7 separate regions of the Homo sapiens genome follow, and all the other regions are linked to region 3. Evidence: promoter capture Hi-C in 16 types of primary human blood cells and fetal thymus (Javierre and others, 2016). All regions are on one chromosome and are shown on one strand. The core of a region is centred on a gene start or on the middle of the fragment in contact, and the rest is flanking DNA. Distances in the headings are between cores, read along the strand shown.

Region 1 (3,027 bases), core at 296-2,795, 910 kb before region 3:
GATCACCAAGCGCTTACATCTTAACACATTTCCTTTTTTGTTTTTCTTTTCTTTTCTTTTTTTTTTTTTTTTTTTTTTTTGAGAGAGTCTCACTCTCTGTTGCCCAGGCTGGAGCGCGGTGGTGCCATCTCGGCTCACTGCAAACTCTGCCTCCTGGGTTCAAGCGATTCTCCTGCCTCAGCCTCCAGAGTTGCTGGGATTACAGGTGCATACCACCACAACCGGTTAATTTTTTTTTTTTTTTTAGTAGAGATGGGGTTTCACCATGTTGGCCAGGCTGGTCTCGAACTCCTGACCCAAAGTGCTGGGATGGATTACAGGCGTGAGCCACTGCAACTGAACCCATTTTCTATACCCAGCTTGTTGAGTAATCTCAGTTATTTATCTAGCTTCTCTTAGCCAACTTTCTATTCTATTATGTTAAAAAAAATGGAGAAATTACTACTTCTCCAATGTTAAAAAAGGTATTTTTTGTTGTTGTTCCAATTTAAGGGAATTTGTTTGCTCAACAAAGGCTGAAGTGCTTTATACAAGGCACCGTGCCCGTCTCCTGAGGAGCCTCTGAACGTTCCCAGAAGCACACGTCCAGGCCGGGCAGAGCATGGCTTCTGTTTCTACCTCTCAGTGAAATCAATCCCCCTAAGCTTTCTTTCAAAGTAGCCCAAATGTGTGGCTCATGGGCTATAAGTCAGATATGAAAGAAGAGAAGTTTGGAGAATAAAGGCGCATTTTCTTATTTATTTATTTTTTATTTTTTAAGGAAATGATAGATATCCTTACCACATCTTCGTGCATGGCCTGCCCGGATACAACTGCGTGGGTACTGCGATGGAGCACAAACAAACGCGACCGCTAAAGTCGTGTAGGGTGTTTCCCTTTCATGTCTGAATTTGTTTAGACAGTTACACAATCAGAGAGCGCGGAATGAGAGAAAACAAAACCCAGGAGAAAGGAATGCTTTGAATCTAGGTCCCTGGGCCTTGATACTTTTTCTTTGTTAAATCAACCCAAGGCCCCTCCATATGCTGATCATCTTTTGCCAATGTCTGTGTCTGAACAGGTTTTCCCAGGCATATAGCTCAGAAAGAACCTTTCATCCTCCTTTTCCTGTTATGTGTATAATGTGGTGTAGCCCAAAGCCACTGTGGGTTCTAATTTGCATGTCTATTTCAAGAAGCCCGGAAACTATTTGCATAAGACTCTTGCTTCCTGAGAGATCCCAGCAGAAGGATGTAGAGATAGAGTCTTTCATTTTTTCATTTAGTTCTAGATATCCATAGTGAGAGATCTGTGTGTCTAAACCCTAAAATCTGTAGAATGTGCATGAAAAAATCTACCACCCTAAGCGTAAGGAGAGCTAGTACAGATGAGGATGTCGTGGCAGAAATTAGTACAAAAAACATTACAACATTTTGTAATTTTTCTAACTTCAAGTATTTTTTGGAGGTTTGTTGTAGAACTATGGAAACTTGAAACATAAAGCAAGACTATTTAAAGGTTCAATCTCGTCTTGTAAGAAAGAGAAACAGGTAGAGAGACAGAAAGGGGATATATACTTCATGGTCAGAGAGCTGCAGGGGCGGTTGTTAGCTGTGCAGATGAGCAGAAGAGAGGATAGCAGCAGCTCAACAGTGGCACCTTCAGTAGTTCTAGAGAGAAGGGATGGCAACAGCAGTAGACCAGGCTAGTACCAGCCAAAGCAACAGATACGTACAATCCAGACTAGTCCTGGGCGGAATAGGGTAGACAGGGCAGGGCCCAGTGGAGACAGCCATGGCCAGGTTTCCCATAGAGTTAGAGTGAGATAAAGTGGTAACAGCAACAGGGCAGAGAGAGACTGGGCAGGAACTGCAAAGATGGCAGCTGGAGCAGAATGATGTGCATCAGGTGAGAGGAAAAGCACAAGGCCAGAGGATCAACTGTGCAGGGTCCATGGTGATGGAGCACAGCAGTGGGCAGAAGTGCGGGCTGGGACCTACCCCCGTAAAGGAGACACTGGAAACCATCGTCCAAAGAGACAAAGACACCAATGACTAACAGAATTTATTGAGCTTACAAAATCGCAGATAAAAAGAAAAAGAAAAAAAAAAAAAGACTGGCCAAAATGCTAAAACTCCCTCCTCTTATGGGATAACAAAACAGGCTACAATTGGTTGGAATCAATATGACCAACCAGAGCCTGTACAGAACCAGCCTGTGATGTCACAGTCTGAACTACCACCACACGTTTCGTACTAACGCCCCCTGAATTTGCACATGCGACCCATGAGGAGGCATGAAGAGATAACTGCTCATGCCAAGACCTTTCTAGGTTTCCCCTTTCCTTCCACCGATCACCCACTAATCCCAGAATCCACCCCGTAAACCTCTTCTAATAAAACTACTCCCTTGAAGCCAGCAGAGGGAGACAGATCTGAGCTGGACTCCTGTCTCCCTGGGAACAATAAAAGCTTTGCTTTTCTCACAAACCTGGTGTCATAGTCTTGGCACACTGGGCAGTGACCCTTTGGCTCCATGACAAACATGATGGTCTAGGGACCCTGCTTCTCTCCTGTTCAGTCTCAGGTGACCCAAGGACTAGACCATGCATCCTCTTCCTTCTTACCTATCTTCATATCCTCATGAGAGAAGGGAGGGTTATCAGCCTCTGAGGATGCAGATGTTGCGCTCAGCCCCAGGATCCCCAGGAGACTGGCAAAGAAGATCATAGCTTTGACTGTTCAGGGTGGCCTTGGACACAAGTTGTACCCTTAAGGAATACCCTTCTCTGACCAGTATGGTGGTTCATGCCTATAATCACAGCACTTTGGGAGGCCAGGGAGGGAAGACTGCTTGAGCCCAGGAGTTTTGAGACCAGCCTGGGCAACATACTGAGACCTCGTCTCTGCAAAAAAAAAAAAACATAATTAGTCAGGTGTGGCGGTGCACATTCCTAGCTACTAATCAGGTTAAGGCAAGAAGATTGCCTGAGCCCAGGAGTTTGGGGAAGCAGTGAGTTGTGATCATGCCTTTGTACTCTCGTTTGGG
Region 2 (2,980 bases), core at 219-2,718, 890 kb before region 3:
TTTGACAAAATAATTGGATTTCTGGGTGCCTCTATCCACGCTGGCATTTTAACACTCCTGTGGCAGATTGCATAGGCTCCCTCCAAAGATGTCTACCTGGTTCTTGTGAAAGTGCTGATATTTGGAAAAAGAAATCTGTACATGTAGTTAAATCCAGCACCTCAAGATGTGATCATCTTGGATTAGGGTGGGCCATAAATCCAATGACAAGAGTCCTCATAAGGAAAGTGGTGGGCATGGTGGCTCACGCCTGTAATCCCAGCACTTTGAGGTCAGGAGATCAAGACCATCCTGGCTAACATGGTGAAACCCCGTCTCTACTAAAAATACAAAAAATTAGCCGGGCATGGTGGTGGGCACCTATAGTCCCAATTACTCGGGAGGCTGAGGCAGGAGAATGGTGTGAACCCAGGAGGCGGAGCTTGCAGTGAGCTGAGATTGTGCCATTGCACTCCAGCCTGGGCGACAGAGCGAGACTGTCTCAAAAAAAAAAAAAAAAAAATAGCTGGACATGGTGGTGCATGCCTGCAGTCCCAGCTAATCCCAGGAGACTGAGGTGAGAGGACCACTTGAACCCAGGAGGTCGTGGCTGCAGTGAGCTGTGATCATGCCACTGCCCTCCAACCTGGGTGACAGAGTGAGACCCTGTCCCAAAAGAAAAGGCTCAGGAGAGACACACAGAGGAGGAAGCCATGTGAAGATGGAAGCAGAGATTGGAGTGATGAGGCCACAAGGCAAGGAGAGTGACAAAGAGAGAAGGAAGGATTCCAGGAGGAGCCAACCCTGCAGGCATCTCAATTTCATACTTCTGGACTTCAGAAAAGTGAGAGAAGAAATTTCTGTTGTTTGAAGCCACCAAGCTTGTGATACTTTGTGCCAGCCTGCTATAGCCTGAATGATTATATCTCCCCAAAATTATTCCATTGAAATCCTAACTCCCAAAGTGATGGTATTAGGAGATAAGGCCTTTGGGAAGTGATTAGTCCTCTTGTAAAATGGGCCCAAGGGAGGTCTTTTGCCCATTTCACCATGTGAGGATGGAGTGACAAGGTACCATCTATGAACCAGAAAGTGAGACCCAGGCACCAAATCTGCTGGCGCCTTGGTCTTGGACTTCCCAGCCCCAGAACTGGGAGACATTCCTGTTGTTTATAAGCTACTTAGTTTATGGTGTTTTGTTACAGCAGCCCAAACAGACTAACATGCAACAAACTAATATAACCCCTGAATTCCAGAGGTCCTGGAATGAGGTCCCTGAACACATACCCTGCAATACCCTGCCTTCTTATATTTGCTCAAACTCAACCACACAGCATGGACCTTCAGTATCATTTACTGAGCACCTAATATGTGCCAGCCAGGAGTAGGTGCTAAAGACCACAGATGGACAAGTCAGGGTCCTGGCCCCTAAGGAGTCAGTCGTAAGCATCTCCAATAGCCGCACTGTATCATGTGGGCCTTGACTGTGGATTTCCGTCTTTGTTTGTTGTTTGTTTCTTTGTTTGTTTTTGAGATGGAGTCTTGCTCTGTCACCCAGGCTGGAGTGCAGTGACACAGTCTTGGCTCACTGCAACCTCTGTCTCCAGGGTTCATGTGATTCTTCTGCCTCAGCCTACCAAGTAGCTGGGACTACAGGTGCATGCCACCATGTCCTGCTAACTTTTTGTATTTTTAGTAGAGATGGTGTTTCACCGTCTTGACCAGGCTGGTCTCGAAATCCTGACCTTCTGATCTGCCTGCCTTGGCTTCCCAAAGTGCTGGGATTACAGGTGTGAGCCACCGTGCTCAGCCAGATATTCAATTTTTAGGAAGTTTTATCTTATGGGGGAAAGAAAATGAAATTTTTAGTTTAGAAGAACTAGGTTCCTATCCCCCCATCTCACTTCCCTGGTATAACAGTACTAGTCAAATAAATTAATGTATAATGTTTGAGAATATAAACAACATTATTAGCTAATTTTTTTGAGAGCTTACACTGTATTAGCTCTATTCTAAGCATGTCAATCACTTAATCCTCTCAAAAACCCTATGTGGCAGGTACTGTCATAATCCCCAATGAACAGGTAGGAGAAAACCAAAGCTTGGAAAAGTGAGGCTGCTTGCTCAGTGTTCCTGATTCAGTGAGAGGCAGATTCTGGGTTTGAAGTCACGTGGGTCTGGTTTGAGGGCCTAAGCTTTGAATTACTGTGTTCCAAAATAGCTCCTTAAGGCACGCATCACTATTGCATGGACCAGAAGACAGAGGTTCAGGTATTTCTACAGAACTGCTATAGGAATCAAACCGTATCATGCGTGCTATCTGTCAAGAGCCAGTTCCTATTTCTCTTAAATCCCATCCTCCTTTCTCCTGCCATGATAAGATCTTTAGGGTCAAAGATTGTATTCTACTTATCTTGGGTCCTCCTCCAGCTTAGCCTGCTATCCCCATCAGAGCAAATGATAATTGTGTGTCTACCACAGGCCAGGCTGGATCGTGATGTATTTCAACGTTCCAAAGTCCTCGAAGCGTTTGAGGCTGGCAACTAACAGTTAAGTAAGAATCACAAGAATGATTCAAATTAGTGTGAAAACTGTCATGCATTATAGCACATTATAAACCCATTTCCTAATGGAAGTTGCAGAGGGGCTGCCATGAGAGAGATTTAAGTTTGAAGGGCTTAAAAGCCTGATTATCTCTCAGTGATGCCTCAGCACTGGGGAAGTGGCTGCCTGGTGTTTCTCTCTGTGATGGAGACCTGTGTGGTGTAATGAAGCAGCACAGAGCTCTGAGATGATGCCTGGGGTACAGACAGACATCCCCTGTGATCCTTCCAACAGTAAGTCTTTGTTGGGGCTGCAGAAAAAGTGTCCCAGGGTAGCTCCAAATTGCATCTCTTCTCCCAGGGAGAGGAGGTGAGCTGTGCCCTTCTACCCAGCACCACACCCCTCACCTTCCCTATGGGATCCCCACTAACAAGGGGCCACCACCGATATCCAGTGG
Region 3 (2,700 bases), core at 19-2,518:
GCGGATCACCTGAGGTCAGGAGTTCGAGACCAGCCTGACTAACATGGTGAAACACCGTCTGTACTAAAAATACAAAAATTAGCTGGGCTGGTGGCCCGTGCCTGTAACCCCAGCTACTCCGGAGGCTGAGGCAGGAGAATCACCTGAACCTGTGAGGCGCTGGCTGGAGTGAGCCAGGTTCGCGCCATTGCACTCCAGCCTGGGCAACAAGGGCAAAACTCTGTCTCAACAACAATAATAATAATAAATAAAAGAAAGAAATCACAGAAACTATACCAGAAAATAGGATACAAAACCAACAGTGAGGAGATTGAGAAAAGGAGGCAGATACGTAAAGAGGAAAAGGAAGGGGGCCCAAGTAAGGCCGGAAAAAGCGGGGAGAAGGAGGAGGCTCATTAGGTCAGAAGCAACCTGCCGTCTTCTAAGTTCTGGCCAAGGGTAGATCAACAGATCCAGATTCCTGAGCTTTAAAATGTTATTCGGCCGCTTCATCACTTGTCCCCGACTTTGCAGCGACTCCGATGGTAGCCTGAGTCTCCATTGCTTGGAGCAGCCACAGTGGACACTGGACGGGATATTCTGTGCAGCTGTTGCTGAACTCAAGGCAACTCTTACTGCCTTTCTCTTTTCGGGCTCAAGATTCCCTGCATTATTGCCCATAGGCATGTGTTTTACCCCATACTCCTTCTCCCTTTTATCTTGATTTTCGCGGTGCTGGGGAGTCTGCAGGGATTCCATGGCGACGGGCTCACTGGGACAGGGGCTGGGGTTGTGCGTCCCTGAGGCAAGGCAAATACAGAAAAGCGAATAGAGACAGAGGGCTAAGATTCCAAAGCACTGAAAGGTAGAAACTGGGTTAGAAGAGAGAGGGGAGCACAAACGCCCGGAGAGAGCGAGCCCTCGGGATACCATTGGCTATAGGCTGGCCTCCGAACAACTGGACGGTCCAAGTCCTGAGCGTCTGGTTACCCGGGCAACCGCATGGTCTCGCGATACATACCTCGCGCCTGCGCACTGCCCCTGTAGCGGGGGTGGGGGGACCCGGTCCGGAGACTCCACCCCGGGGCCTAAACTCGAGTCTAAAAGATTGGGCCTCGTTGTGTCGTTTCCGGGTCGCGCGACGCTGTGGGCCGCTTTCCCCTCTCCGGAGTGACCTAACACAGGATAACGAAACCTGCACTGCTCCGAGCGCTTCCTCCCCGGCCCGTCGCGTCTGCGAGGCGAGGCCGGGAGGCGAGGGCTCTGCGCACGCGCGGCGCAGGCGCACTGGGCGCCGGTGCTGTTGCCTTCAGGTGACCACGGATTCGCCATCGTGAGTTCCAGGTGGGCGCGCGGGGCCCACGTAGGGCAGGAGGCCAGCCCCGGGGGGATCGGGCCCGGGACTCTGCGGAATCTGGAGGCCGAAGCCCGCGCGCACGCAGGGTCTCTGCTGCTTCCCCAACGCCTGTTGCGTGGCCGCAGGACCCGCCGCCCTCCCGGTTGGGCCGCCCAGTCCCGGGCCGGGCGCGTGCACCCAGAGCTTCCGCGTTTCTAGTCCGGCTCCTCTGCTGGATTGCAGCGCCGGCTGGGCACCAGGAGTACAAAGCGAAAACCCCCGCCGGCCCTTCTGTTCTCCACGGTCTCCAAGGAGACACGGACAACAGAACAACACTTCCGTGTGCTAAATAGTAAAGCACCAAGGTACTCGATCCAGGGGCGGCGTGCAGTGGGGAGGTGAGCTTTGGGTCGGCCGTCGCCCCTCGGCTACCGGCGGGATCCAGAAACCGGGAGTCACCACCAATACCGTTCTCAACTTTACTTCCAGCTGGTCACTACTGTGTCGGGAGATTCTACCTTCTTTTCCGACTAACATGTATTTTTCTCCAGTCCTTTCTGCGGCGTCTCTAGTGCAGGCCACCGTCATTTCTAACCTGGACGACTCCAGGAGCGTCTTTGCTGCTCGGGGACTCTTCCTTTGCCCAGATCCACAAAGATCTATAACGTCTTTCTAATCACGACACCTCTGCTTTAGATGTTAAAGTTGCTTCACACTGGAACGCTTGCAAAGGTCTTCATTATCTGGTCCTTACCCACCTTTCCTAGTTTCTCACCGCTTTCTCTAGCATCTCTGCCCCAGCCACATTGAACTTATTTGAACGTGTTTTTTTTTTTTTTTTTTTTTTTGAGACATAGCAGTCGCCCAGGCTGGAGTGCAGTGGCGCGATTCCGGCTCACTGCAACCTCCGCCTGCCGGGTTCAAGCGATTCTCCTGCCTCAGCCTCCCGAGTAGCTGGGACTACAGGCGCCTGCCACCACGCCCGGCTAATTTTCGTATTTTTAGTAGAGACGGGTCACCACGTTGGTCAGGCTAGTCTCGATCTACTGACCTCAAGTGATCCGCCCGCCTGGGCTTCCCAAAGTGCTGGGATTACAGGCGTGAGCCACCTCGCCAGCCAACTTATTTCTTTTAATACTGAGATACCTTTCTTTACTCCATACTTCCTTTGGTAGGCATTGTTTAGATGTAGGTTAAGAGGTCCGGCCCGGCGCGGTGGCTCACGCCTGTAGTCCCAGCACTTTGGGAGGCCGAGGCGGGCGGATCACAAAGTCAGGAGATCGAGACCATCCTGGCCAACATGGTGAAACCCCGTCTCTACTAAAAATACAAGAATTAGCCGGGCGTGATGGCCCGTGCCTGTAGTCCCAGCTACTCGGGAGTCT
Region 4 (2,741 bases), core at 128-2,627, 550 kb before region 3:
AGGGAAGAGGGGATGGCAACGGCTGTCAGGTGGACAATCAACCCTCCTCTACAAGTACACATGCACACGCACACACACGCACACACACACCGACTGAATGCTGAGTCCCCCCAAAATTCCTATGTTGAAGCCCTAACCCCCAAAGTGACAGTATTTGGAGGTGGGACCTTTGAAAGGTAATTAGGTTTAGATGAGGTCATGAGGCTGCAGCCCACATGATGGGATCAGTGTCCTTATAAGAAGAGGAAAAGAGACCAGAGCTCCTTCTTTCTCAATCTCTCTCCCTGTACTCTCCAGCCTCAATGCCATGTGAGGACACAATGAGAAGACGGCTGTCTGCAAGCCAGGAACCCAATCTGCTGGCACCTTGATCTAGGACTTCTAGCCTCCACAAGTGTGAGGAAACCAACATCTATTGTTTAAGCCACCCAGTCTGTGGCATCTGTTATGGCAGCCTAAAGAGACTAAGACACATACAAGAGTCAACTGCCTTCAAAGGCAGGCCATCCTCCTGACAAGGGGCTTGCGAGGCCCCTCAGTTAACTACTCTGGATCCCAGCTCCAAGCTGAAAGGGAAACAAGAGCAATCGGAGTTTCTTAGAAGTGCTGAGTACTCGCAGCATCTATAATAAAAGCTGCAATAAGCAATAAAGATGAGAGAAGTTTAGGCCTTTTGGCCTCAGCTTTTCCATTTATGTGAAGCCTCCCTTTTAAACTAAGGGGGCTTTGGCAAAAGTTTAAATGTAAACACATTTGTAGTGAGTGTGGGTACTGGAATAAGGGAGTAAACTACACTGCCTCTGAACTTTCCCTGATTCAACTCTGCACATTAATTCAACTCCCTCTGGAGGCTTGTGGTTCCAGGACGCCAAGCCTTGCCATTTTCCCACAGGCTGCCCTGTAGAGTCACGAGTAAACAAAAGCAGGGCAACCCCAGCTCCATGAGACCGTTCATTCACCACCGACAGTGATCTCAGTCACCCCATCACAGCACACCCAAACCCAGAAACTCGAAGTGATCTCCCCACAGGACTCAGCTGAAGCCTTTCACTATCTGTATGGACAGTAACAGACACAGGAAAACTTAAAAGCTGAATGGGAAAATGACCGCATCCTGCAAGTGAGCATCCTACTTGGCAAACAAGGAACACAGAATGATGAAAGCCTAAAAACAAAGAGCTCACTGGTAAATACCCAGACATCGGGTGCCACATGTCTATAGAGCATAACAACCGTTTTTCTTACGGGAATGGAAAGGAGGCTGTTTTAGAAAATATTCAACATTTCAAAAATTCATCTAATTCTGGAGTTAAAAGAGGCCTTCGAGAAATACCACTTCATTTTAGTGATGAGGAACAGAGACATCAGTCATAATCCAGATCCTATAGAAGTGAAGTGATCCGATTTATCTTGACTCCAACAGGATGCTTTTAAGGATCATTTAGGACTACTGCAGTAATCTCATGTCTACTTTGTAAGCGTCCATCCTCAAGTCAATTCTCTGTCTGTCTCTCTCAAAACAAAGCCTTAATAGTCACTCCTTCCCCACTACACAAGTCTGTGAGAACAACCACCACCTACCACTGAGTCTGCAGCTCTAGTCCTCGGCTGTCAGGTATGAGGACTTTTGCCCCAAGAACCAATACATATCCTCCATCAAGTTACTCACTCTGGCAATTCATTGCATTGCAATCAAGTCTGTTACTACCTAATAACTCTATGGTCAAGTGATGTTTGCCCAAAGTCTCAACACACCATCGAGGGATTTAAATCCTACAGCAGCAGTATGACTCAGGGAAAGAACAGAAAAAGGTGGCGTGGCACCCCTTAAGTAAATGCTCCACCTGATACGAAGTCCACATGAAATGGAGAAATCGGCTTCTTTCCCTGAGTTACCCAAGTTGTCATGCTTTCATTTCTTTTGTTGTAACAGGATTCATTACCCAAGAACCCAGCATCCTATCAGCTTTGACTTCACTCACAGCTCTTATCACAAAGGTCAGAACTTTTTTTAACAGTACCTTTTTCAAGTTCACATAAATAGGAGCTACTGGTTACTTTAACTAAATGAAAAGGACAAGGACAAAGGACACGTTAACATACTCATAATGAAAACTTGTCTTTTACTGACAGCTGGTTATAGAGGAAATCACTCATCACTTCGAGAGGAACAATTGTAAAATAATTATGTAACAAGAAAATACAGATCATCATAGCTAACTACTTCCTTTATGCCTTAAAAAAATTAATCTGAACAGCTTAATTACAGTAGGATAGTTTTACCTCCTTAAATGGATTAAGTACTTAAAAATGTAGCACAAAGGCCATGAAAAATGAGACAATTCTTTTAAAAGTTTTCCGAGGCAACTCAGAGTTGAAAGAACAAAATCTAAAAGTCATTCTCTACATTTTGGTTTATAATTTTGTTTTGTTTTGTTTTGTTTTTTGAGATGAAGTTCGGCTCACTGCAATCTCTGCCTCCCAGTTTTAAGCGATTCTCCTGCCTCAGCCTCCTGAGTAGCTGGGACTACAGGCGCCCACCATGCCCGCCTAATTTTTGTATTTTCAGTAGAGACGGGGTTTCACCATGTTGGCCAGGCTGGTCTTAAACTCCTGACCTCAGGTGATCTGCCCGCCTTGGTCTCCCAAAGTGCTGGGATTACAGGTGTGCGCCACCTCACCCGGCCGATAATCTTACAAATGTCAAACTGAGTAAGATTCCAATTATTTGTGAGTATACT
Region 5 (2,826 bases), core at 30-2,529, 530 kb before region 3:
AAGGGATTCCAGTGCGTTGACAAGCGCATCGCTGAAATGTTGGAATTCAAAAGCAGAGGCAAAGTCCAGCAGGAGCAGAGGGGTTGGAAAGGGACCTGGAATGGGAAAAATCTGATGTTCTTATTGTAATCTGTCAGCTGAGCTGAAGGACAGAAGCTTCTGGTGAGTAGGATCTCTGGATTTCAGCTCAGAAGCGGTTCCTGGTATTAACAGTGTCTTTTTAGGGTAACCTCCTCCTCCTAGTTTGAGCACTGAAAGTCCTGCGTCCTGTGAAACTCCTTAGTCCTCAGACTGAACATCCCCATCCCAAAAAGCTCCTGCTGCCACTCCAGTCTCAGGCAAACCAGGCTGCTGGTCACTCAGCTCCGGCTGCCATGGAGTCCCCGGTGAGCTTTGACAAATACTGACCCCTGCAGCAGATGACTGTGAGCCAGGGGCCAAAACTTTCAAGGAACGAATGAGGAGCTACGACCACGAAATGCTAGCACTGAGGGTAGAGGACAGAATACGACTGAGACAAGGCTCAAAGCAGCAGCGAGGGGAAGGGTCATGACCCAAAAGTGGCCATGAGGGCAGGAACCTAAGCCCTGCCTCCAGATCCCAAGGCACATACAGGGTGGGAGAAGGTGCACTCCCATTCCCAAGGGAGCCAAGGCAGCACTGAACTCGGAGAGTGGCTCTCGGTTAGACCAGGAGGTGAAGATACTGGGGGAGGAGGAGGCTGGCTGATGATCCCAGGGTTAGACCAGGAGGTGAAGATACTGGAGGAGAAGGCTGGCTGATGATCCCAGGGTTAGACGAGGAGGTGAAGATACTCAGGTAAGAGGAGGCTGGCTGATGATCCCAGGGTTAGACCAGGAGGTGAAGATACTCAGGTAAGAGGAGGCTGGCTGATGATCTCAGGGTTAGACCAGGAGGTGAAGATACTCAGGTAAGAGGAGGCTGGCTGATGATCTCAGGGTTAGACCAGGAGGTGAAGATACTCAGGTAGGAGGAGGGTGGCTGATCTCTGGGTTAGACCAGGAGGTGAAGATACTCGGGTAGGAGAAGGGTGGCTGATCTCTGGGTTAGACCAGGAGGTGAAGATACTGGGGAAGGAGGCAGCATGGGAGCTGGCTGATCCCAAGGCAGGAGCACAGCACCTGGTGGAAGAGGCTGGAGGGGAAGGGAGAGAGGGTGGGGTGGAAGGGGGAGGCAAAGAGCAGTCCCAGGAACCTGGAAGGAGGGGGAGAGACAGGGCATGAAGGTGGGATCCTAAATCCCAGAATCGTCGGCAACATAATAAATGGCAACACCAGGAGAGCTGGCATCTGACGATGTCTGTGGGACACAGTGCATAGGTAGATTTTAACACACTGAGATTGCTATTTGGTATAATGACATGTTTATCCTGAAGAAATGAAGTTAGGAATTTTCTGAGCTACAGAATGAATTTTTTGGTTCTCATCGAAAGGTCTGTTGCTCTTGGAACTCAATTCTCAAAGGTCTGTTTCACAAATAATCATCCTCGTTCTGATGTTTATTCAAATCTTTGCCCACCCTCGAGTCTCCTTAAATTCCTCATATTCCACAAATGATGTGTGTTATCTGAATCCAGAAAACCCTCATGGGTTTGCAGATATAACTGCCAACAACTGATATAGAAATAGAGAGTGTAGAAAATATTTCTTGACAATAAAAGTCAGAAGGAAGATTCGAGTTATCCTATCCCCATGAAAGGAAGGGGAGGGTACATGTTGTGTTGTGGTGAGCTGCAGTTTGCATTGTGCACATATGTGTGTGTGTGTGCATGCATGCATGCACACATGTGTTACGTTAAGATCATAACATGTGGTGATCTAAGTCCTCCGGAAGCTAGACAGACTCAACATATTGTTCCAGCAAAAACTTTAGCATCATTTAGAAAAAAATATAGCAGAAAAAAATTCCTCAACTCAAGAACAACACAGGTACTTCTGTTCAGTGTAACCTTCCTCTCAAGTTTTGGGAAAGATGGAAATAGGCCAGGACTGGAGGGGTGGAGCCCTCACACAGTCAGCTCACAGGTCAGCAGAAGTGACAGGTACTCCAGACTTAAGACCTTGAGGGAAACCAAGGTTCCTCTGTCTCTTCTCTGAAATAATCAAGTTCTTTCTTCCCTTCTCCCTCCTCAATGCAAGGCCGTGCTTCCCCAAACAAGATCTGGGACTCTCGCGCCTACTGAGATGGACAGAGAGCTTCACAGGTGTCAACAGTTTCAAGAACCTTGGCCAGCCTCAGCCAACAGCCAACCAGGCAGGCTGGGCGAGCCCAGAGGTTCCCGGAAACCAGAAACTAGGGCAGAAACACCCAGCAACTCAGTCGCTTTTCTAAAACAGAGCTACCAATAAATATATAAATCACTGTCATGAGCCATAGAAAGGGAAAGCTTTTATAAATTAAAGCATCCAAATATTAAGCCAATATTACTTAGGATTGCATTTATCATTGCTACAGAAAAAAACTGTATGTAAATAAATGTGAATGCATACAAGGTAATTGAGTGTCCTATGTTAATATAAGGGTAGCCCATATTTTTTCTGAAATGAAACGACATTGAAAACGTACCTACCAAAAAAATGTGGTGGGTGTGTGTGTGTGTGTGTGTGTGTGTGTGTGTGTGTGATGTTTATCTAGGTCAACATTAGATTTTTACCCAATATCTGTGTACACCAAGGCCCAGCAGGGCAGGGTGGTTACACAGTGTATGTAGCAAGACAAGCCATAGCCACTGTGAGAATGACTGCCCAAGAGGAAGGAGAGCATTAAATCTCCTTAGACAAGTACCGACAGGTACTGGAAATGCTG
Region 6 (2,756 bases), core at 45-2,544, 580 kb before region 3:
ACTCCATTGAACAATTTGTCTTCTCTGAGACAATATTGGGCCAGTTAAATTACTGTTGCTTGAAGGTGTGTTTCGGTATCTGGTCTGGTAAATTCCCTTTCATAACTCTTATCTGTAAAGAAAATATCGCAACTAATCTTTCTAAGTGTAATGGAAATATTTCTGGTTTAATAAGATCTCATAAGAAAAATAAGGTAGAACCACATAAAGGGTTGAAATGGAAAAACAAGGATGAGTTCACATTCTTTAGCTCTGTCATTACTACAGGTGCAAGGACACTTTTGTCCACTAGCAACTCTCTTGTGCACCTCTAGTGCCAGATCATCTCTGTTTCTACTCTTCATCAAAAAAGAAACCAGGACTTCTTGAAAGGCACACAGTCCTATGTCTTGCGTCAGAAAAAAAAAAAAAAAAAAAAATTAGGATGGCCCCAAACATCCTATTGTTGTAACAAAGTAAGGATGCTGCCATAACTGTCAAAAGCAATATTTTACTTTTAAAAAAACCAAAACCCCACAAAAACAAAAGAATAAGCTTGAAGGACTTCCACCAGTCAAGCTGTAATATTCTGAGCATCCAAAAAAGGAGATGAAAATTATAAGGTGAGTCTATAAAGGGACACACATTCATAGAGACTCCAAGAGAAAAAGGAGTTGTAATACAAAATTAAGATGATTATAGGATATAGCTAAGGGACTATTCATATATGTGTGGACATTTTATATGTTGTATGAAGAATATACATTTTCATAAACCATAGACATGTGTTTGTTTCTAGCTATCCTTATAGGAATAAACAAAATCATAAGATAAACTAGAAAAACATAGTACAAACAGACAAAAGAAGCCAGGCGCAGTTGCACATACCTGTCATCCCAGCATTTTGGGAGGCTGAGGAAGGAGGATCACTTGAGGCCAGGAGTTCAAGACCAGCCTGAGCTGTAACATAGTGAGACCCTGTCTCTACAAAAAAAAATAAAAAAAAAATGAGCCAGACATGGTGGTGCATGCCTGTAGTCCCAGTTATTTGGGAGGCTGAGGTGGAAGGATTGCTTGAGCCTGGGAGGTCAAGGCTGCAGTGAGCCAAGATCGCGTCACTGCACTCCAGCCTGGATAACAGAATTCTGAGACTCTGTCTCAAAAAAACAAAATAAAATCGTCATCAGTGGTCACATATAATAAATACAAATAAAGGAGTCTACTTGATCATATGTGATCACAAATAAAAGAGGATCCAGCAGTTATGTCCAAAGATAATAAATAGCCAAATATCTCAGGGACAAGCGTTCACCACACAGACTTGATGGTTCTACTAGACAAAATCTCAAAATGATCCTAGTTACATGAGATATTCACAGGCATATGTAAGTTTTCGATTACACTAACGGACAAGATCAACAGATCATAAAAAGGCAAGACAATGAGTAGGTCAGGCTGACTATGCAAAATGAAAGCATCCACTTCTGGGAAGGACACCAAGTTTCCTAAATGAAAGAAGAAATGGCAAGATATTAAAAATTCCATGACAAAGCAAGGAAGAATTAATTTTAACGAAGGACTTTGTCCAGGGCCCATGGCCCATGACTGCAGCAGCGTGGACTGTGCTGCCAGGCCCTCCATCCTAAGAATCAGTCAAGAACCCAGATCTTGCTCCTTCAGTTAGCCTGAGGGGGGATTTCTTTCCTTTTAGTCTTGGTAAAATTACTGCAAGCCCAGAAAGGACAGTATAACAGAATATGTAGGAGAATATAAAAATAAATATGCCAGTTTTCAAAGGGAATGCTTCCAGTTTTTGCCCATTCAGTATGATATTGGCTGTGGGTTTGTCACAGATAGCTCTTATTATTTTGAAATACGTCCCATCAATACCTAATTTATTGAGAGTTTTTAGCATGAAGGGTTGTTGAATTTTGTCAAAGGCCTTTTCTGCATCTATTGCGATAATCATGTGGTTTTTGTCTTTGGTTCTGTTTATATGCTGGATTACATTTATTGATTTGCGTATATTGAACCAGCCTTGCATCCCAGGGATGAAGCCCACTTCATCATGGTGGATAAGCTTTTTGATGTGCTGCTGGATTCGGTTTGCCAGTATTTTATTGAGGATTTTTGCATCAATGTTCATCAAGGATATTGGTCTAAAATTCTCTTTTTTGGTTGTGTCTCTGCCCAGCTTTGGTATCAGGATGATGCTGGCCTCATAAAATGAGTTAGGGAGGATTCCCTCTTTTTCTATTGATTGGGATGCCCTCTCTCACCACTCCTATTCAACACAGTGTTGGAAGTTCTGGCCAGGGCAATTAGGCAGGAGAAGGAAATAAAGGGTATTCGATTAGGAAAACTGGAAGTCAAATTGTCCCTGTTTGCAGACGACATGATTATATATATAGAAAACCCCATTGTCTCAGCCCAAAATCTCCTTAAGCTGATAAGCAACTTCAGCAAAGTCTCAGGATACAAAAATCAATGTACAAAAATCACAAGCATTCTTATACACCAACAACAGACAAACAGAGAGCCAAATCATGAGTGAACTCCCATTCACAATTGCTTCAAAGAGAATAAAATACCTAGGAATCCAACTTACAAGGGATGTGAAGGACCTCTTCAAGGAGAACTACAAACCACTGCTCAAGGAAATAAAAGAGGATACAAACAAATGAAAGAACATTCCATGCTCATGGGTAGGAAGAATCAATATCATGAAAATGGCCATACTGCCCAAGGTAATTTATAGATTCAATGCCATCCCCATC
Region 7 (3,053 bases), core at 236-2,735, 560 kb before region 3:
CCTTATTTATCTTATGCACAGCCTCTGTGACCACCAATCACAATCACAGGACTGAAACCGCTGCTTCACTGCCTGCTTCGCCCACCGCTGTGCCACATGTATTCCCCTGTTACAAAATACAAGGCCGAGCAAGGTGGCTCATGCCTGTAATCCCAGCACTTTGGGAGGCTGTTGTGGGAGGATCACTGAGGCCAGGAGCTCAAGACCAGCCTGGGCAACATAGCAAGACCCCATATGTTTAAAAAACATTGGAAATGCCCTGGGCATAGTGGTACATGCCTATAGTCTCAGCTACTCAGGAGGCTGAGGTGGGAGAATCACTTGAGCCCAAGAGTTGAGAGGCTGCAGTGGGCTATGATTGCACCACCGCACTCCAGCCTGGGTGACAGAGCAAGAGCAAGACCTCATATCTCTAAAAGAAAAGAAAAAAAAAAAAAAAAAAGAGGCTGGGCACAGTGGCTCATATATGTAACCCCAGCACTTTGGGAGGCTAAGGTGGCTAGATCACTTGAGGCCAGGGGTTTGAGACCAGCCTGGCCAATATGATGAAACCCTGTCTCTACTAAAAATACAAAAAATAGCCAGGCGTGGTGGCGTAGTCCCAGCTACTTAGGAGGCTGAGGCAGGAGAATCGCTTGAAGCCAGGAGGCAAGAGGTTGCAGTGAGCCGAGATCGCACCATTGCACTCAGCCTGGGAAACAGAGAGAGACTCTGTCTCAAACAAAACAAAATAGAAAAGGAAAGGGAATGAAACGTATATATATTGCGCCTCACATAACTTACTTTGGAACCCATTCTCAGTCTACACTGAGTCTGTGTTCTCAGGCTTAAGTAAGTCCTCAAACTTGGCTCCAAATAAATCTAACTGCGATTTCTCTAAGTTTTAGTGCTTGTTGTTTCACTTGTTGGTCAATAGGCACCGGACCCAGGTCCTTTACTGCTAATCCTTCAGCCTCAGCAAATCAATCTATGCTACAAACATATCAATGCTGACCCTGTGCCAGTGGAAAAGGCTTCTAGTTCTCAGCACGGTGCTCGCTGGCCTGTGACACTGCTCACTGTCTCCTTCCTTAAGCACCTTGTGGGCTTCATCCTGCTTGTATCCTTCCAGGCCTTTCCTCAAATGTCACCTTCTCAGAGAGGCCTGACCTCCTAGCTGCCCTGCTGAAAAGTATGACCCTGCCCCCAGCACCTCCCCGTGTTATGTTCTGTCCACCAAACCAAAGCAACATCTTTACAAAGTTAATGTGAAAATAAAGAGAATGAAAATCCAAAGGCTAAGTCAACTGAAAAATAATGTAGCTGCAACATTTGTTTAAATATCTTAAATATCACTCCATGATTAGGCTCAAAATTATCAAACAGTAAGGCATATATAATAAATTACACCAAACATTCCTCAGACACTAGTTGCATTGCTCTTTTAACAACAAGAATGCCTGCAACCTGAACTGAATTGAGAATTACAAACCTCGCAGAGGGTGACTCAGGGAACCCATCACAGCCAGCCTGATATCAACACACTGTCCCATGGAAAAACGTGCTCCTCGGCAAAATCCTAAATGCACTACATACACCTCTGCTCAGCCACAAGTGTCTGAAAAATCAACTGCAGTTTCCTTCTAGTTAATCATAGACCAAGAAGGCTACACACTTCCATAAAAGGCTCCGTATTTCTGCCCTTCACCATAGATAATCTCCACGATGCCAAACCCAAACAGACAACTGCCTCTGACCTTGACCTCGTTATTACATTTGGGGAGGAGCTGGAGGGAATGTGACAGAAGAGCGGGCCGTGATCAGCAGCGAGAAGAGCGCATGCAAAGGCCACAGGGTAGGAGGGTGCCTGGGGGGGATGAGGAATGGCAAAGCGCGAGGCTGGCTGCAGGGGAGGGAGGGATGGTGAGGATATAGAGCGTGGGAACTTGAACACCAGTGCTGGCATTCTGGTCTTCACCCTGAGGGCCATGGGGAGTCATTTCCAGGTTCTGAGCAGAGTAATGACGGTATCTGACTCATGAGTTAAAAGATTACTCCAGCTCCCAGGTTTAGAACGGGCTGCAGGCAGGCAGGGCGGCAGATGCAAAGGTCATCCAGGTGAGAGATGCTTTAGACTCACGCAGCAGCAGCATAGGTAGGCGGAGAGCCTGATTCAAGATGTATTTTAAAGGTAAAGTCTCTGGGACTTCCTGAAGGACTGGACACGAGGCGTGAAAAGCACTGAGGAATCAAGGATGACTTGGAGGTTTCCGGCCTGAGCAACCAGAAGGCTCAAGTTGCCATGACGGGAGGCTGAAAGAGCAAGTGGATCTAGGACGTGTCGAGTCTGAGACGTCTGATCGACATGAAAGAGGTGACATTGAGAGGGCAAGTGCAGCCAGCGCTCAAGCCTGGGTGACTCGCTCTCCTTTACCTGACTGACTCGCTCTCGTTTACCTGACTGACTGGCCCTCTGCAGTCTCAGGCTTTGCCTGCCCTCCGCTTTCCGTCCCCTCATCCTCTGTCCCGCACTCCCACTTCCCCCTCAACTAGAGACAGCATAAGATGCCCACTCAGCCTTTCCTGGACGTCAGTGTTGAGGTGCAAACATGACTTGGGCCTTGTTGCCAGGAGGGAGGTTGAGCTTCCAGTGCACAGAATGAAATGACTTTAGTTCTGAATCTAGGAAACAGGCCCTAGCTTGGGATGTTTTTCTGACTTCTCTTTAGATTTAGTTGCTTGGAAATCTTTCTTCTCACATAGGACCAGTGGGGTGAGGGGCACCCAAGCCTGTCTCCTATTAGAGAGACACGGGCACTGCGAGCCGGTGCAGGAGGGGGGGGCTGCGGTTGACTTTTCAGACACTTGTGGCTGCACAGAAGTGCGTGTAGTGCATTTAGGATTTCAGCCCAGGAGGATGTTTTTCCGTGGGACAGTGTGGTGAAGTATATGTATATGCTGTCAACACAGGGGCAAACATCTTCCTTCTTTTTCACTGGTTTGTCCTTCTTCACAACTGGAGCTGGAAAAGGGGGTGCACAGGAGCCTCTCAGTCTGAGTTAAGCATGGAGACC

What was found. The method cuts DNA at HindIII sites, captures the fragments that hold promoters and counts their contacts. A CHiCAGO score of 5 or more calls a contact.
Region 1: a contact is called between a fragment that was not itself captured here and the fragment with the promoter of RPP38 in region 3, in 5 of 17 cell types (total B cells, total CD4 T cells, naive B cells and 2 more). The highest score is 10.3, in total B cells.
Region 2: a fragment that was not itself captured here is called in contact with the fragment with the promoter of RPP38 in region 3 in 1 of 17 cell types (total B cells); the score reaches 6.0 in total B cells.
Region 4: a contact is called between a fragment that was not itself captured here and the fragment with the promoter of RPP38 in region 3, in 1 of 17 cell types (neutrophils). The highest score is 6.5, in neutrophils.
Region 5: a fragment that was not itself captured here is called in contact with the fragment with the promoter of RPP38 in region 3 in 1 of 17 cell types (neutrophils); the score reaches 5.6 in neutrophils.
Region 6: a fragment that was not itself captured here is called in contact with the fragment with the promoter of RPP38 in region 3 in 2 of 17 cell types (neutrophils and monocytes); the score reaches 6.5 in neutrophils.
Region 7: a fragment that was not itself captured here is called in contact with the fragment with the promoter of RPP38 in region 3 in 8 of 17 cell types (neutrophils, monocytes, megakaryocytes and 5 more); the score reaches 9.6 in neutrophils.

Annotation. Positions count from the first base shown.
Region 1 is chr10:14,184,070-14,187,096 of GRCh38, forward strand. The region is part of intron 2 of FRMD4A (FERM domain containing 4A); the gene reads right to left. It overlaps LOC124902378 (a long non-coding RNA gene), which reads left to right. Exons shown (of 2, transcript XR_007062060.1): 2 at 761-2,393. Among named protein-coding and RNA genes, the nearest start is that of FRMD4A-AS3, 110 kb to the left of the region's middle. RefSeq lists a silencer at 1,155-1,214 and an enhancer at 1,495-1,544. The HindIII fragment of the contact is 1,806 bases long and covers 643-2,448 here.
Region 2 is chr10:14,209,236-14,212,215 of GRCh38, forward strand. The region is part of intron 2 of FRMD4A (FERM domain containing 4A); the gene reads right to left. Among named protein-coding and RNA genes, the nearest start is that of FRMD4A, 120 kb to the right of the region's middle. The HindIII fragment of the contact is 1,220 bases long and covers 859-2,078 here.
Region 3 is chr10:15,096,087-15,098,786 of GRCh38, forward strand. It overlaps RPP38 (ribonuclease P/MRP subunit p38), which reads left to right and starts at 1,269. Exons shown (of 3, transcript NM_183005.5): 1 at 1,269-1,680. RPP38-DT (RPP38 divergent transcript) reads right to left here and starts at 1,233. Exons shown (of 2, transcript NR_160789.1): 1 at 1,001-1,233; 2 at 1-779. RefSeq lists enhancers at 814-1,385, 1,687-1,776, 1,837-1,976 and a silencer at 1,187-1,546. The HindIII fragment of the contact is 10,027 bases long and covers 1-2,700 here.
Region 4 is chr10:14,548,758-14,551,498 of GRCh38, forward strand. All of the region lies in intron 2 of FAM107B (family with sequence similarity 107 member B), which reads right to left. Among named protein-coding and RNA genes, the nearest start is that of MIR1265, 110 kb to the left of the region's middle. The HindIII fragment of the contact is 5,215 bases long and covers 1-2,741 here.
Region 5 is chr10:14,567,628-14,570,453 of GRCh38, forward strand. The region is part of intron 2 of FAM107B (family with sequence similarity 107 member B); the gene reads right to left. Among named protein-coding and RNA genes, the nearest start is that of MIR1265, 130 kb to the left of the region's middle. The HindIII fragment of the contact is 2,251 bases long and covers 155-2,405 here.
Region 6 is chr10:14,511,803-14,514,558 of GRCh38, forward strand. No RefSeq gene overlaps it. Among named protein-coding and RNA genes, the nearest start is that of MIR1265, 77 kb to the left of the region's middle. The HindIII fragment of the contact is 1,525 bases long and covers 533-2,057 here.
Region 7 is chr10:14,531,116-14,534,168 of GRCh38, forward strand. The region is part of intron 2 of FAM107B (family with sequence similarity 107 member B); the gene reads right to left. LOC124902381 (a long non-coding RNA gene) reads left to right here and starts at 1,761. Exons shown (of 3, transcript XR_007062063.1): 1 at 1,761-1,834; 2 at 2,171-2,353. The HindIII fragment of the contact is 5,949 bases long and covers 1-3,053 here.